2 separate regions of the Homo sapiens genome follow, and region 1 is linked to region 2. The links are contacts of gene promoters, found by promoter capture Hi-C in blood cells and fetal thymus (Javierre and others, 2016). All regions are on one chromosome and are shown on one strand. Each heading gives the region's core, a stretch centred on a gene start or on the middle of the fragment in contact. The rest is flanking DNA. Distances are from core to core; before and after follow the strand shown.

Region 1 (6,975 bases), core at 2,110-4,609, 330 kb before region 2:
AAACGGTGAAAGAGAGAAAGAGAATGAGACAGAGACAAACATGAGACTGTCAGATCTCAATGCAGTGATAAAGAGCCTGAGATGGATGAGAGTGAGAGGGTGAGTTTTCACGGAAGATACCACGGTTATCCCCACTTTACACCCTTGTCAAGTAAGCTTGACGTTCTCCAGGGAACTTGACCTTCCAGGCTTTGCCCACCTGGTCAGGAGAGCTCTGTCAAAGGTGAGCACAGCGGTTTTGTCACAGCCAGTGGAGATGCTCAAGCTCGAGAGCAGTCTGTGAAGAAAAGCGAAGGAGCACAGGGTGGGGAAGTAGTGGTCAGCATGAATAGAGGGATTAGTGGGGTCACAAAGTAGAAGCAAGGCGTGGGAAGCTAGGTGATCAGGAAAGACTTCGTGGGTGTTTTGCCCGGGAGAGTGTGGTTACTACTTGGAAGCTGCAGGGCTTTTAACCAAAAGCATCACGCACTTCCTTCGAGCTGGAATCGAACCAGCGACCTAAGGATGTCCGCAAATGTCTATACAATCTACAGTCCTCCGCTCTACCAGCTGAGCTATCGAAGGATGCATGCTATCAAAGCTGGTTCATTGGACTTTCTGCAAACAGAGGGAGCCACATCCCTGGAATGCTTGAGGTCCAATACGCGTTGGGTTGGTTGGCACCCACCTTGGAAGAGAACCCTGCGCCGCTTGACACCACACCCCTTTCAGGGCGGAGCAAATCCTCTGGGCGAGGATGCCTGGTGTCTCTCGGGCTCTGATAGCCACCATCCACGAGGAGGAGCTCTCATCTGTGACAGCCTTCCTCTCCCTGAGCATCCACCTTTCTACAGGTGAGGATGACAGCCCCCAGTGGCCTGAGAGAAAATGAGAAGGTGAGTCAGCGAGGGCACAGGGATTGGCGAGGTGGTTGGGTGGGTCTAGTCGGGGAGAGAACGCTGGAGGAGGAAAAGAGGAGAACCCTAATGGGCGCTGGATAGGCAGCTGACAACTCCAACCCAACCTCAGAGTCTGGTGCAGGTCTCTAATGGGCGCTTCCATAATAGTCTGGCCTCTCTACTCCCTCCCCTACCACACACACAGGGCCCTCCTCCCCAGGTGCCCCGCCCTTCTCCTCATAGTAGTCTATGCTCACATTTTGGTGCATTGAGGTGCACTGGGAAGTGAGGTGAGGAAATCTCTCCCAGGCTTGCAGAGGCACATGTGAGATACCCTCTTCTGCAAACAGGCTGAGAATTCCAATCAGAAGCTGCTGATTTCTGAAGTAGGGCAAAGTTCTGTGGGTTTCTTTGAAAAACAAGAAGCCAGGTAGAGGACAGAAGTGTGAGCTTTGGACTCCTTATCCTGAACCCACATCTTTGACAAAAGTTTCAGATCCCATCTGGTGTGTGCCCACCACTCCGAGACCACTGAGGCACCCTCTCTGCAGCAGAACACCTAGAGGAGGACAGGAAGCCACACCCACGGGACCTAGCCTCCATTGAGTTTATGTCCACTTCCTGTCTTATGGCAAGTGGGTGTGGATCTCCGAGAGTGAGGATCAGATCCTCACAGACATCCTGCTACTCTCTGCCATGGCACAGCTGGGAAGAGTGGGCACCTGGGCTCACCTTCACTTGTGCCAGCCACCAAACCCATTTGTTGGCTCACCTCTGGTTTTTCCCCAAAGCACTGAGCAAAGGTTCCAAGGGCTCTGGTGACTCCACGCCCCATCAGGAATATATCCAATGAAGGCCTGAGGTGCTACCTTTGGTCCCTCTTTGTTAGCTGGTCTTTGCCTTTGGTGTCATTGGAGCTGGGGTCTCTCTGTGCCTCCAGAGCCATAGAAGCATCCCAGAGCACTGGTGACACCAAAGAAGAAAGGTTGACACAGTCGGGGTGACGTGGGGGAGAATAGGCGGTGGCGGGATACCAGGAGCTGCTTTCCATGTGAAAAAGATATGTGCAGTAATATGTGCAGTATCCAGTTTGAGAGGCACAATTAAACAGTTCATGTGGACCCAGCAGGTAGTAGATGGGGCAAGCCAGTCCTAAGCAGGCTTCAGAAGGCCATGCTTTCCTGGGCCATTCAGTTTGGAGTACTCTCTGATAGGTTGCATCTTTACATCAAACATCGGGAAGCTTTTTCCAAGATTATGTGATGAGACCAAAGGATGCTCATTGGCTTTCTTCTCTGCCACATATCCACCAAACCCACTCCAACTCCCCAGAGTTGAAGCTTCACTTGATTGATAAAGCCCAGTCCATTTCTGACTCCATTCTCTCTGACTGGGCCTCAGCACATTTTTCTTGGGAGTAGGAGAACCCAACTGTGCCTCTAGGTCCCAGAGCAAACGCTCCGAACTGCTTAGACCCACGAGGCAGTGGCCTGTCTAAGGAGGCAAATCCACGTGCCTCTGTATAAAGGCAGCTGTCACTCAAGCTTTACGTCTGCTCCCTGCCATGGACCCAATAGCCCCTAACTCTCCAGGATCACTGAAGCTGTTTTGAAGTCTGCACTTCTTTGGTACTCGCTTTCCCTTTCCCTTACCCTCCCAAGTAGGCAGGGCACTTGGTGCAGGTGTTTTTGCAGACTTTGAACTGAGTATTAGATATCCTTACTTTTCCAGCAGTAGCCAAACTTGGCTGTAGCAACATAAAAACTTGTGAAAGCTCAGGAAAGATGAAGCTTGACGGGTCTGGGACAGGGGGATGGGTGGGCAGTTTGTAAATACAAGTGGAAAGGCGTAGGATGGTGGGGGCACGAATTGGGGTCTGGCTGGGTCACAAGGCAAGGGGCACTGTTTTGAGCTGAAGACTATGAGGATTCGGGAAGAATGAATAGGCTCCCAGGCCTGTGATCAGGAAAGGCAGGATTTTGCTGGGTTTTCCTGGGGAAAGTGTAGTTATGACTGGAAGGCTGCAAGGTCTTTGACGAGGAACAGGTGCAGCCAGGCAGCATTGTGCGCAAAAGAGTCAGGCGCTTCCTTCGAGCCGGAATTGAACCAGCGACCTAAGGATGTCCACAAACGTTTCCGCAGTCTACAGTCCTCCGCTCTACCAGCTGAGCTATCGAAGGATGCACACTGTTAAGGCTGGGTCACTGGACTTTCTGCAAATGGAGGAAGCCAAGTCCCTGGACCACCGGAGATCCAATACTCGTTGAGTTAATTGGAACCCGACTTGGAAGAGAACTCTGCGCCGGTCTCCACTGCGCCCCTTTCCGGACAGAGCAAATCCTCTGGGCCCGGGGGGGTGCCTGGCGTCTCTGGGGCGCCGATAGCCACGATCCACGAGGAGGAGCTCTCACCTGTGGCCTTCCTCTCCCTCTGCATCGCTCTTTCTGCTTGTGAAGATGACAGCCCTTAGTGGCCAGAGGGAAAATGAGGTAAGACGGCGAGGGCAGAGGGCTTGGTGAGACTGATGGGTGGGTCCAGTGGAGGAGAGGACACTGGAGGAGGAAAAGAGGAGAACCAGCATGGGCGTGGTGTAAGCAGCTTCCAACCCCAGCCTAGCGTCAGGGTCTGATGGAAGACCATAAGGGGGCACTGCCCTAACAGCCTGTCCTCTACTTCCCACCACCTCAAACACACTCCTCTCGATGTGCGCGGCCCTTCTACCCAGTGTCCTATGCTCACTTTTTGGAGTATTGAGGCATAATGGGAAGAGAGGGAGGAAATGCAGGAGGATAGGTGGAGGCCAGGTATGGTGGCTCGCACCGCAATTCCAACAATTTAGCGGGCCGAGGCGAAAGGGGCGCTTGAGCGCAGGAGTTCGAGATCAGCCTGGGCAACATAGGGAGAAGCCATCTCTACAGAAAAACTTCTAAAAAGTATCCGGGTGTGGTGGCCTGCACCTGTGGTCCTGGCCACTCAGCAGGCTGAGGTGGGAGGATCATCTGAGCCCGGGTGTTCGAGGCTACAGTAAGCTGTGATCTTGCCACTGCACTCCAGCCTGGGCGACAGAGACAATTTAAAAAAAAAAAAAAAAAGATATGTGGGGAGAGAGTAGGGCCAGGGGCTCGCAGATCACCATGTGATACCCATTACCTCTAACCCCAAAGGCCAGCATAAAAGCTTCGATCCAGTCCTCTGCTACTGACCAAGAATCCTTTCCCAGAGGCTGCTGCTTTCTAAAGTAGGGGCCCCTGGAAAGAAAAGGGGGCTGATAGAGGAAACCAGGTGAGCTTTGGACCCCTTACCTAGGCCACAAATTGTTACAAAGGGTTCATATCCCATATGGTGTGTGTCCACTATCCCAAGACCACTCATCACCCACACAAACAGTGAGACAGTTACTGGTGGCACAGCAAGCTGAACCCAAAAGACCCACCCTTTATTGAGTTTATAGGGGAAAAGTCATGGTCAGGGATCACCCACACTTTTGCTGATGACCAAACACCACTCAATGGCCCACCTCTGTTTTTTCCCTCAAAGCACCAAGCCTAGGTTCCAAAAAACCTGGTACCGCCACATCTTATCAAGGACATATCCAGTATAGACCAAAGGTTCTACTTTGGTTTCTGTTTGCTGATCTCTGCAGCAATGTCATTCGAGGCTGGGATCTCTCTGGGGCTGCAGAGCTACAGAATGTTGCTGGGGCACTGGTGAGTCCACAGCTCTGCCCCTTTCCATCAGCAGTGGGAAGCAGGAAAGGCTGATACAACAGAGAAGAGGTAGGGAATAGGCCGTAGGGGGAGAACAGGATCTGCTTTCTAGGAGGGGAAGACATGTGTACTCTCTAGTTTGAGACGCAGAGTGAAAAAGCAGTTATGCCCATCGGGTAGGGGAGAGTGGTCACCGGGTTCCCAGAAGGCCTCTGAGAACCAAATTTCCATCACTGTTTTGCTTGCAGTGCTCTCTGTGATAATTTTCATCTGTATATCAAGCGTCTGAAGATTTTTTTTTTTTTCCCCAGAGCATAGGATGGGACCAGGGGACACTCATTGTGGTTCCTCTCTGGCTCATACTTTGATGAACCCACTTCATCTTCCCAGAGGTGAAGCCCAGTTGGTGAAAGCCAAGCCCATTTCCTGCTTCATGCTCTCAGATTGTGCCAGCCATCTTCCTCTTGTAGAAGGCGCAACCTTCCAGCTGTGCCTGCAGAGCCCCCACATAAAAGTGAGCATGCTGCTCAGATGCAACAAGCCAGTGGCCTAAGGAGGTGAACTTGTGTACCTCTGCAAGGTGGCAGCTGCCACCCAAGCTTCAATTCTGCTCCCTGCCAGGGACCCAACAGCCCCCAACCCTCCCGGGTCACTGAAGTTCTTTCCAAGTCTGCCCTTTTATACTCTCTTTCCCTCTCTCACACCTTCACAACCAGTAAGACACTTGGTATAGGTGTTTTTGCAGACTTTGAACTGAGTGGAAGGTATCTTTCTTCTTCCAGCAGGAGCCCAAAGTTTACTGTAGCAACATTAAAAGGTGCGAAGGCTCGGGAAATGTGAGGCTTGGTGTATGTGGGAAGGGGGCACATTTTTGTTCTCAACCTGAAGGAAAATATTATGGAGCCAGTGGAAGCCCTATTTATTAAGAAAATCTCAGGGCGGCAACTCTCTCCCACAAATAGACAAAACAAAACAGAAATGAACATTTTCTGTCTGTATACATCTATACATTACAAGCAAAAGATAATGAGAGAACTAGAGTCAGAGAAAAACAGAGAGAGAGAGAGAGAATGCTCAGATAGAAAAGCATTTGCTAGAGACCTGGAGAAGGAGATGAGAGAGAGACAGCATAGAGAGCATTTTTTTTTTTTCCTGAGGATGTCACAGTTGTCTCTGACCCTTTTCTCTTCCAGCAGGCTTGATCTTCTAGGAGTTGATGGTGGGCCCACTGGTTTAATAGATCGAGAGATCTATCAATGGTGAGCACACAATGTTGCTAGAGTCCATGGCCCTCAGCACCCAGAGCAGTCTGTGGATAAAAGTGAAAGAGCTCTGGATGGTGGGGGTGCGAAGGGGGTTGGGGAGAGGGGCTGACTGGGTCACAAAGCAGAAGCAAGGGGCCCTTTGCGTTGAAGAGTACCTGTCCCTGGACTGTGGGAAGAATGAGTGGGCTTACGGGCGTGTTTCCTGGCCACAGCACAGGTGTGGAAACCAGGTGATCAGGAAAGGTTTCTCTGGGTTTTGACTGGGAGGGTGTGGGTGGATACTAGTTGGAGGCTGCAGGGCGTTTGACCAGGCACCAGGTGGCATTGCATGCAAAAGCATCGGGCACTTCCTTCGAGCCGGAATCGAACCAGCGACCTAAGGATGTCCGCAAATGTCTGTACAATCTACAGTCCTCCGCTCTACCAGCTGAGCTATCGAAGGGTGCACGCTGCAAGAGCTGGATCACTGGACTTTCCGCAAATGGAGGAAGCCAAGTCCTTGGAACGCTGGAGTCAACACACTTAGAGTTGATTGGAACCCGCCTTAGAAGAGAACCTTGCGCTGGTTGCCACCGCGCACCTCTCAGGGTGGAGCAAATCCTCCGAGTGTGGTTTCCTCGCGTCCCAGAGCGCTGATAGCCACAATCCAGGACGGGAGGCTCTCGCCTGTGGCCTTCCTCCACCTGTGCATCTCTGTTTTTACAAGTGAGGATGACAGCCCTCAGCGAAAGAAAACAAGAGGGTGAGAGGGCTCGGTCAGAGGGATGGGCTAGGTGGATGGGTGGATCCTGTGGGACAGGGGTTGCAGGAGGAGGAAAGAAGAACTCGGAAAGCTTCTGGGTGGGCGGCCGCTATCCGCAGACCAGCTGCAGGGTCTGCTGAAAGTCCTTAAGCAGCCCTTTCCTAAAACTCTGGCCTTCCTACTCCCTTCCCGGCCAACACACACATGCCCCTTCTCCCGATGTGCCTCCGCCCTTTTCCCTACAGTGTCCTATGCTTGCTTTTTGGCGCATTCAAGTGTGCTAGAAGTGAGAGAGAGAACAAATGGGACTAGGTGAGAAGAACTCGCCCAGGGCTTGCAGATGCACTGTGATACCCTCCTTCCTCCCCAGCGCCCAACTGGGG
Region 2 (6,770 bases), core at 3,444-5,943:
AAGAAATCCAAAGACTCAAGTTTCCAGCATAGAGGTGTGATGAGATGGAGAATGTTTGTATGAAGAGAGAAACAGGGGTGTTGCTAAAAACAAAAAAGAAGCTGGGTTCCTCCTTGGAATGGCCCTCCCTTGCTCTACTTGTTTTGGGTTTTAGGCTCCCCTTTATACAACATGGCTCTTTGGAGTGCTGGAGTAGGATTAAAAAGAAGAAAGAGGCCAGGCATGGTGGCTCACACCTGTAATCCTAGCACTTTAAGAGGCCGAGGCAGGTGGATCGCCTGAGGTCAGGAGTTTGAGACCAGCCTGGCCAACATAGAAAAATCCCATCTCTACTAAAAATACAAAAAAAAAATTAGCTGGGTATAGTGGCGCACGCCTGTAAACCCAGCTATTCAGGAGGCTGAGGCAGGAGAATCGCTTGAACCCAGAAGGCAGAGGTTGCAGTGAGCCGAGATCATGCCATTGCACTACAGCCTGGGCAACAAGAGTGAAACTCTGTCTTAAAAAAAAAAGAAGAAGAAGAGGAAGAGGAAGAAGAAAGAGGAGGAGGAGGAGGAGGGAGAGGAAGCTGAACTGGCTTGTAGAAGATTTCATAGATGTCTGATGCCCACAGTACTATCAGAGCTTGAACAAAAACAGCTCCACCAAATTCAAAGTAGAAATTTGGAACAAGATTTGAACAAGAAAAAAAATACCACTTCCCATAACACAGTCTCCTCCTCTCCTAGCTTTAGCCCTTAACACAGAGTGTGGCACATCTAACATGGTCAGTAAAGAATTCCACCAACTCAAGAACGAAAAATAAACTCCCTATCATGGATAAATGTCTTTCCCCATTATATATCTTTCTTTCCTCTTTATCTTCTCTTTCTTCATCCCTTTCTTCTCACATTTTTTCTTCATTTTCTGTATAATAGCAAGTCTCCTAGGCCAGGTGGCTGTGCTGGCCATTCCCAGTAGTTCTCAAAAACACAAACAGATCCTTCTGGAAAGTTCTGTCTTGAATTGGTCCCTGTTGCAGGACAGTACATTAGAAATGGTATTTCTAGAAGGCTTGGAGAAGTAGATGATAAGCCAGAGTTTCCTTCTTGGGATTCCTCTCCCGAGTCTGAACTGGAAACCATTGACCTAGTTGTTAAACAATGGAGGCCCCCAACCCAGAACATTTTAATGGGATAACTTTTAGATTTTCTTGAGAAACATGAACTGAGAATAGAAAGACTTCTACATTCTCTCACTGCCCTGGCCATTCCGGTCCCTATTTCAGGGTCTCAGTCCCTCAGGAGAGATATACGAGACCCCCAATGGGTGTCCAATCCTTGGATTTTCCTCTAAGACTTTATCCATGTGTTAAGAGTCCACAATGCACCTCCAAAGAAGCTCCTGTGTGACCACCATTCATCTTCTGAGGATATCAGCGATCCTTTCATGCCATCCCATGCCAAGACTAACACTGCTCTGTGGTGATCCCCCATCCTATATCTGTAGGAAGCCATGCTGGGTCTGCCCGAGCCAGAGTTTTCAAAATCTATAATCCCTCCAGAACCTCCTTGCTTTCCTCAACATAGATTTTTGCCAAAGGAGATCAGATCCAATTGGAAGATCCCTCCCCCGCAGCAGAATACTTTGTAATTGGATTAGTCTCAACAGCAACAGTAGTTCTGGCCTTGAATATGAGTTAATCAGCCAAGTCACAACACAAGAAAGCTGACTGCACCAGAAAACCCTGTACAATCCGTGAATTTCTTCATGGTTGAGACTCAGATGAATCATCATGTTGATCTGACTCATGCTTCTCCCTGCCTTAGGCCAAGAGACTGAGGCTTCACCTGGGATCTGCCTCTTTCCCACTCAAGAGTCAAATGAGCCCCCAAGGAGTAAGAAAAAAATGTGATTGATTCTGATTTGCACCCCAGTCTTTTTTTAATTTATCATAAAGAATCAAATATTTACATTAGAAGATATCTTGTGCTGTGAAAAAAAAGGAATAAAAGAAGGGAGGAAGAAAAGAAGTGGGAGGGTGGGAGAGAAAGGAAACAATAGAATAAGGCAGGCGCGGTGGCTTACGCCTGTAATCCCAACACTTTGGGAGGCCAAGGCCAGAGGATCGCTTGAGCTCAGGAGGTCAAGACCAGCCTGGGCAACGTGGAAAGACCCCATCTCTCGAAAAAAATAAAAAATTAGCCAGGCACAGTAGCATACACCTGTCGTCCCAGCTATTCAGGAGGCTGACGTAGGAGAATCGCTTGAACCTAGGATGTGTGGCTGCAGTGAGCCATGTTCTCACCACTGCACTCCAACCTGGGTGACAGAATGTCACCTGTCTTAAAAAGAAAACAATAGGCTAGAAAAAAAAGAAAAGAAAGCAGTAAGTGACATAAGACCAAGAGGAAAAAGGGAAACTTGAGCATCATCTGTCCTCCCAGTGGCCTACGGAGGGAAAAGAGTAGACACTTAGCTTCACAGTCCACCGCAAATCAGGCAGGGTCACTTCTGCAAACACTGGTAACCTACTAAAACCCAAGCACAGAATAAGACAGACACTGAGATTCAGAGATAAAGTCAAGATGGCTCCTACTGTTGCAGGGGAACTAGAATGACTCAGAATCCCAGACAGGTCATGTTTGAAGAGGCCATTCATTCACTCCCATTGAGGTGAAAGTTGCATCCCTTTCTCCCTTCTCTCCTTCTCTTATCCTGGAGCGCAAACATTGTGTGGAGTGCAAACATTGTGTGGAGCCCCTACATAGGCGCGGTGGCTTATGCGTTGGAGTTGAACTACTATGAAGGTACTTGAGATCTGGTGATTCCCTTGGATAAATTTCCTACAAGGAATCATTTCACAAAGTTTTATGGACAGAAAATGCCCATAATTTGGATGGTGGCTTTTGGAGCCGTGACATGATCTCAGCTATATGAATAGAATTATAAGGACAAGATGCTGAGGGATTTACTCAAGAGCTCTGACTAGCTGACAGTAGAATCTTGGCAGATCTTCCAACACACACATCTAGTATGGCCCAATCTTCAGAATTATCTGTGCATTTGGGCAAGAATAGGCCCCATCGCCAGCACCCTGGCATTTGGGCAAGACTCGCACAAAAAATGAGGGATGGCTTCAGGAGTAAGAACCTTTGAGACGGCCTGGGTTGTGGACTTAATAGTCTGGAGAGATATCAACAGGTATCAATTTAATTTAATGGTTCCATTCCTCAGATATCTCTAGGGCAGAGTCCTCAGCCCAGGGCACACACAGAATCACGACTCTGAACGTGAGCATTCTCACTGGAGGGGTAGAGGTCACTGTGGTGACCCTTTTGAGCACCCAGGAAAGATTCCCAGGTAAAAGGAGGACTGAGGAAAAGCTGGAAAAGAGGCAAGTGTCAGCCTAGGATGTGTCAGTGGGCCATGCATTCATCTACAGGAAGGGCGGTTCCGCCTGGAAGAGGCAGAGCGGCCCTTCTCCCCCTGTCCACCCATGTCTCCTCACCCCACCTCACCCCGAGATGAGGAGCCCTGAGAGAGCTGGCAGGCTGCAGTCGGTGAGGTCTGCAGATTTGGGGAAGAAGTCGAATAAGGTAGAGAACCACAGAAGGAAAGTCCAATTAGGGCGCTGGGGCCTGAGATCATCAGGCCCTAGCCTGATGACTCAGGAGTCTAGCCCTCCAGATGAACTGGCTGGTTCCACACACAGGTCAAGTGGATGTGCTGGGAGAACATCCTAAACCTGTAACGGAAATTAGGGGGCCAGGAGCCCACAGAAATCACACACTGGGTGAGCTCAAGTGTTCGGAGACTGAGGTAGCAGTTGTCCACTGTCAGGTCCCGAAAGTAGATATCGCCTTGCATATGCCATTTATCCTTCTGATGCTCTAGTGAATGAAGGTGTTGATGAGCTTGCAGACTCTGGAGACCATTCCCCTATGCTATATTATCACGTCACAATAGTGGCTGGACCCACCTGAGATTCTGCACCTCAGGTAATCAGACGGCTACTGTCTAAGTCCTGGGCCTGGGGGAAACACTCTGACGTAGCAGCAGACACAGGAGGGTCCCCGTCAGAACCATGTTTTCTGTGAAGTGGGGATCAGTCCTTTTCCCTGAAGTACCTAGCACATAGGTGTTCTCAGTAAGTGTTATGTTAGCTTACTAAGAAGACTGGTCTCATTTGAAGAGAAATTAACAAATGTAAAAAAATAAATAAACCTATTAACTAGGTTTAATATTTATCAAACTATTAACTATTCAATAATCATTTAACTATTAATTTCTGTTTTCTTCAGTCGCTTAAATCTGATTTTTCTCTTCTTTCCGTTACTGCAGTCTCCCTTTTTCACACAGGGAAACAACCCAAGACTCAGAGTTCTCCGCGGAGGAATGCAAAGAACACAGGAAGTCAGTACTCCCAGAAACAGTCTTTGCTGGCGCGCTCACACCCAACCCCATCCCGCCCCCGTCCCGTCCCGCCCCGCCCCACCCCACCCTCTTGATTTCTGGGGCCGGTGACCAGGCCCAACGCAGCCTTCAAGTCGGCCCAAACACGGTTTCTGCCTCAAGGATTATTTATATAACCATTGCTTATTGGCTGCTGGCAAACACTCGCTCTTCTCGTTGGCTGAAACTGTCGGGAGAAGTTCTGCGAAGGCTGCTCCTTGCGGCGTTGGGACTGAGGGTCACAGGCACCTGTATTTCCGTTTCCGGTTCGCCTCCGGAGCCATGGCGGCGGCACTGAAGTGTCTACTGACATTAGGAAGATGGTGCCCCGGCCTTGGAGTGGCTCCCCAGGCCCGGGTGAGTGCCTACATTCCCTGCTGTCGGAGAGACTCTGGATCTGCAGAGACATCTCCGCGCAGAGGAGGAGCGCTCCTGGCAGCCCCCGCCCTAGCGATTGCCAGCAACTTTCCTTTCTGCCAGGAAATCAACCTACCTTTCTCTGCCTGCAGGCGCTCGCCGCCTTAGTACCCGGAGTGACCCAGGTAGATAACAAGTCCGGTTTCCTGCAGAAGAGGCCTCATCGCCAGCACCCTGGCATCCTAAAGCTGCCGCACGTGCGGCTGCCACAGGCACTGGCTAACGGTGCCCAGTTATTGCTACTTGGTGAGTAACGGCGGGAAAGCGAGAAGAAACGGGACTGGACCTACATGCAAGTGATTCCGCTTTTCGTCTTTGGCCCATAGGGAGCGCTGGGCCCACTATGGAGAATCAGGTGCAAACACTGACCAGTTATCTCTGGAGCAGACATTTGCCTGTAGAGCCAGAGGAGTTGCAAAGACGGGCTAGGCATCTTGAGAAAAAATTCCTGGAAAACCCAGGTAGGACTTAAGAATAATTAAAAAGTGGGCGAGATTGAAATATCGGTTAGAAATGAAGAGTAAGAAATAATTCTACAATCTCTCAGATACTGAAGTCTCTTATTTGACTTTCTAACCAGAGCAGCAGTTGTTACAATGATGCCTTACTAAAAGAAGGTAGATTATTTTAGAGATTGCTTAGGTAAAGGTCAGAATGTCCCAGTATACTGTTTTTTGTTTGTTTGTTTGTTTTGTTGTTTTGTTTTTGCTTTGAGACAGAGTCTTGCTCTGTCACCCAGGCTGAAGTGTAATGCTCGATCTCGGCTCACTGCAACCTCCGCCTCCCGGGTTTAAGTGATTTTCCTGCCTCAGCCTCTTCAGTAGCTGGGATTACAGGCGTGCACCACCACACCCGGCTACTTGTATTTTTAGTAGAGACGGGGTTTCATCATGGTGGCCAGGCTAGTCTCGAACTTCTGACCTCAGGTGATCCGCCCACCTTGGCCTCCCAAAGTGCTAGGATTACAGGCATGAACCACCGCGCCTGGCTACCAATATACTGTTAAAATCTAGATATTTATTTTTTTCTGCAAGTCCACTGGATTAGGACCTTCTAAGTTTTTATTCAGGTAAAATAAAGTCCCTGGATGGTCCCTGCCCAGTACTGAAACCCTCTTCTGGGATAAGAGGGTAAATATAATTCATCAAGTTAGTTTCATGATTGTGAGCTCCTTGACACTACCATTTATTCATCTTGCATTCCCTGCACACCTCACAGTACCTGGCTCACAGTAGTTCAGTAGATACTTGCTAAATAGTACTGAACTGAACAGTCATGAGACGTAGATTTTCAGATTTCTTTCCTCTCCATAGGAATAGTGGAGATCATCAAAACCTTAAATTTTGGAGAAGTGAAGAAATCCAAAAAATAATGTCCTTGGCCTACCCTTTAAAAAAAATTTTTTTTTTTTGAGACAGAGTCTTGCTCTGTTGCCCAGGCTATAGTGCAGTGGTGCGATCTCAGCTCACCACAACCTCTGCCTCCCGGTTTCAAGTGATTCTCCTGCCTCAGCTTCCCAAGTAGCTGGGAATACAGGTGCACGCCACCACGCCTGGCTAATTTTTGTATTTTTCGTAGAGAAAGGTTTTCACCATGTTGGTCAGGCTGTTCTCAAACTCCTGACCTCGTGATCCGCCTGCCTCAGCCTCCCAAAGTGCTGAGCTTACAGGCGTGAGCCACCGCACCCAGCTTACCCTTTAAATTTGTATCACACTTTCCTTTAATATAAAACAAACCTGTGGGACAGGATTGGTTAAGCTGAATAAACCATTCTTATAAATAAAATGCTATCTGATACAATCTGTTAGTGGTAGTTGTTACCGTTAATTCTTGCCTGAAACTTTTCTCTAGGTTTGTCGTCTCCCTTGAGCTTTAAGGCTTTTCTTAGGTGGAGTCGGGGAGGACTGGGTGGGCAGTAT

What was found. The method cuts DNA at HindIII sites, captures the fragments that hold promoters and counts their contacts. A CHiCAGO score of 5 or more calls a contact.
Region 1: a contact is called between a fragment that was not itself captured here and the fragment with the promoter of METTL17 in region 2, in 1 of 17 cell types (monocytes). The highest score is 5.3, in monocytes.

The regions. Positions count from the first base shown.
Region 1 is chr14:20,656,994-20,663,968 of GRCh38, forward strand. It overlaps TRY-GTA7-1 (tRNA-Tyr (anticodon GTA) 7-1), which reads right to left and starts at 3,058; the gene lies at 2,965-3,058. It overlaps LOC124903281 (a long non-coding RNA gene), which reads left to right. Exons shown (of 2, transcript XR_007064059.1): 2 at 712-5,420. It overlaps TRY-GTA4-1 (tRNA-Tyr (anticodon GTA) 4-1), which reads right to left and starts at 564; the gene lies at 471-564. It overlaps TRY-GTA5-4 (tRNA-Tyr (anticodon GTA) 5-4), which reads right to left and starts at 6,292; the gene lies at 6,199-6,292. RefSeq lists silencers at 4,429-4,648, 6,597-6,666 and an enhancer at 6,207-6,486. The HindIII fragment of the contact is 1,387 bases long and covers 2,667-4,053 here.
Region 2 is chr14:20,985,287-20,992,056 of GRCh38, forward strand. It overlaps METTL17 (methyltransferase like 17), which reads left to right and starts at 4,694. Exons shown (of 14, transcript NM_022734.3): 1 at 4,694-4,791; 2 at 4,944-5,097; 3 at 5,178-5,312. The coding sequence starts at 4,717. RefSeq lists a silencer at 4,341-4,470 and an enhancer at 5,221-5,270. The HindIII fragment of the contact is 15,587 bases long and covers 1-6,770 here.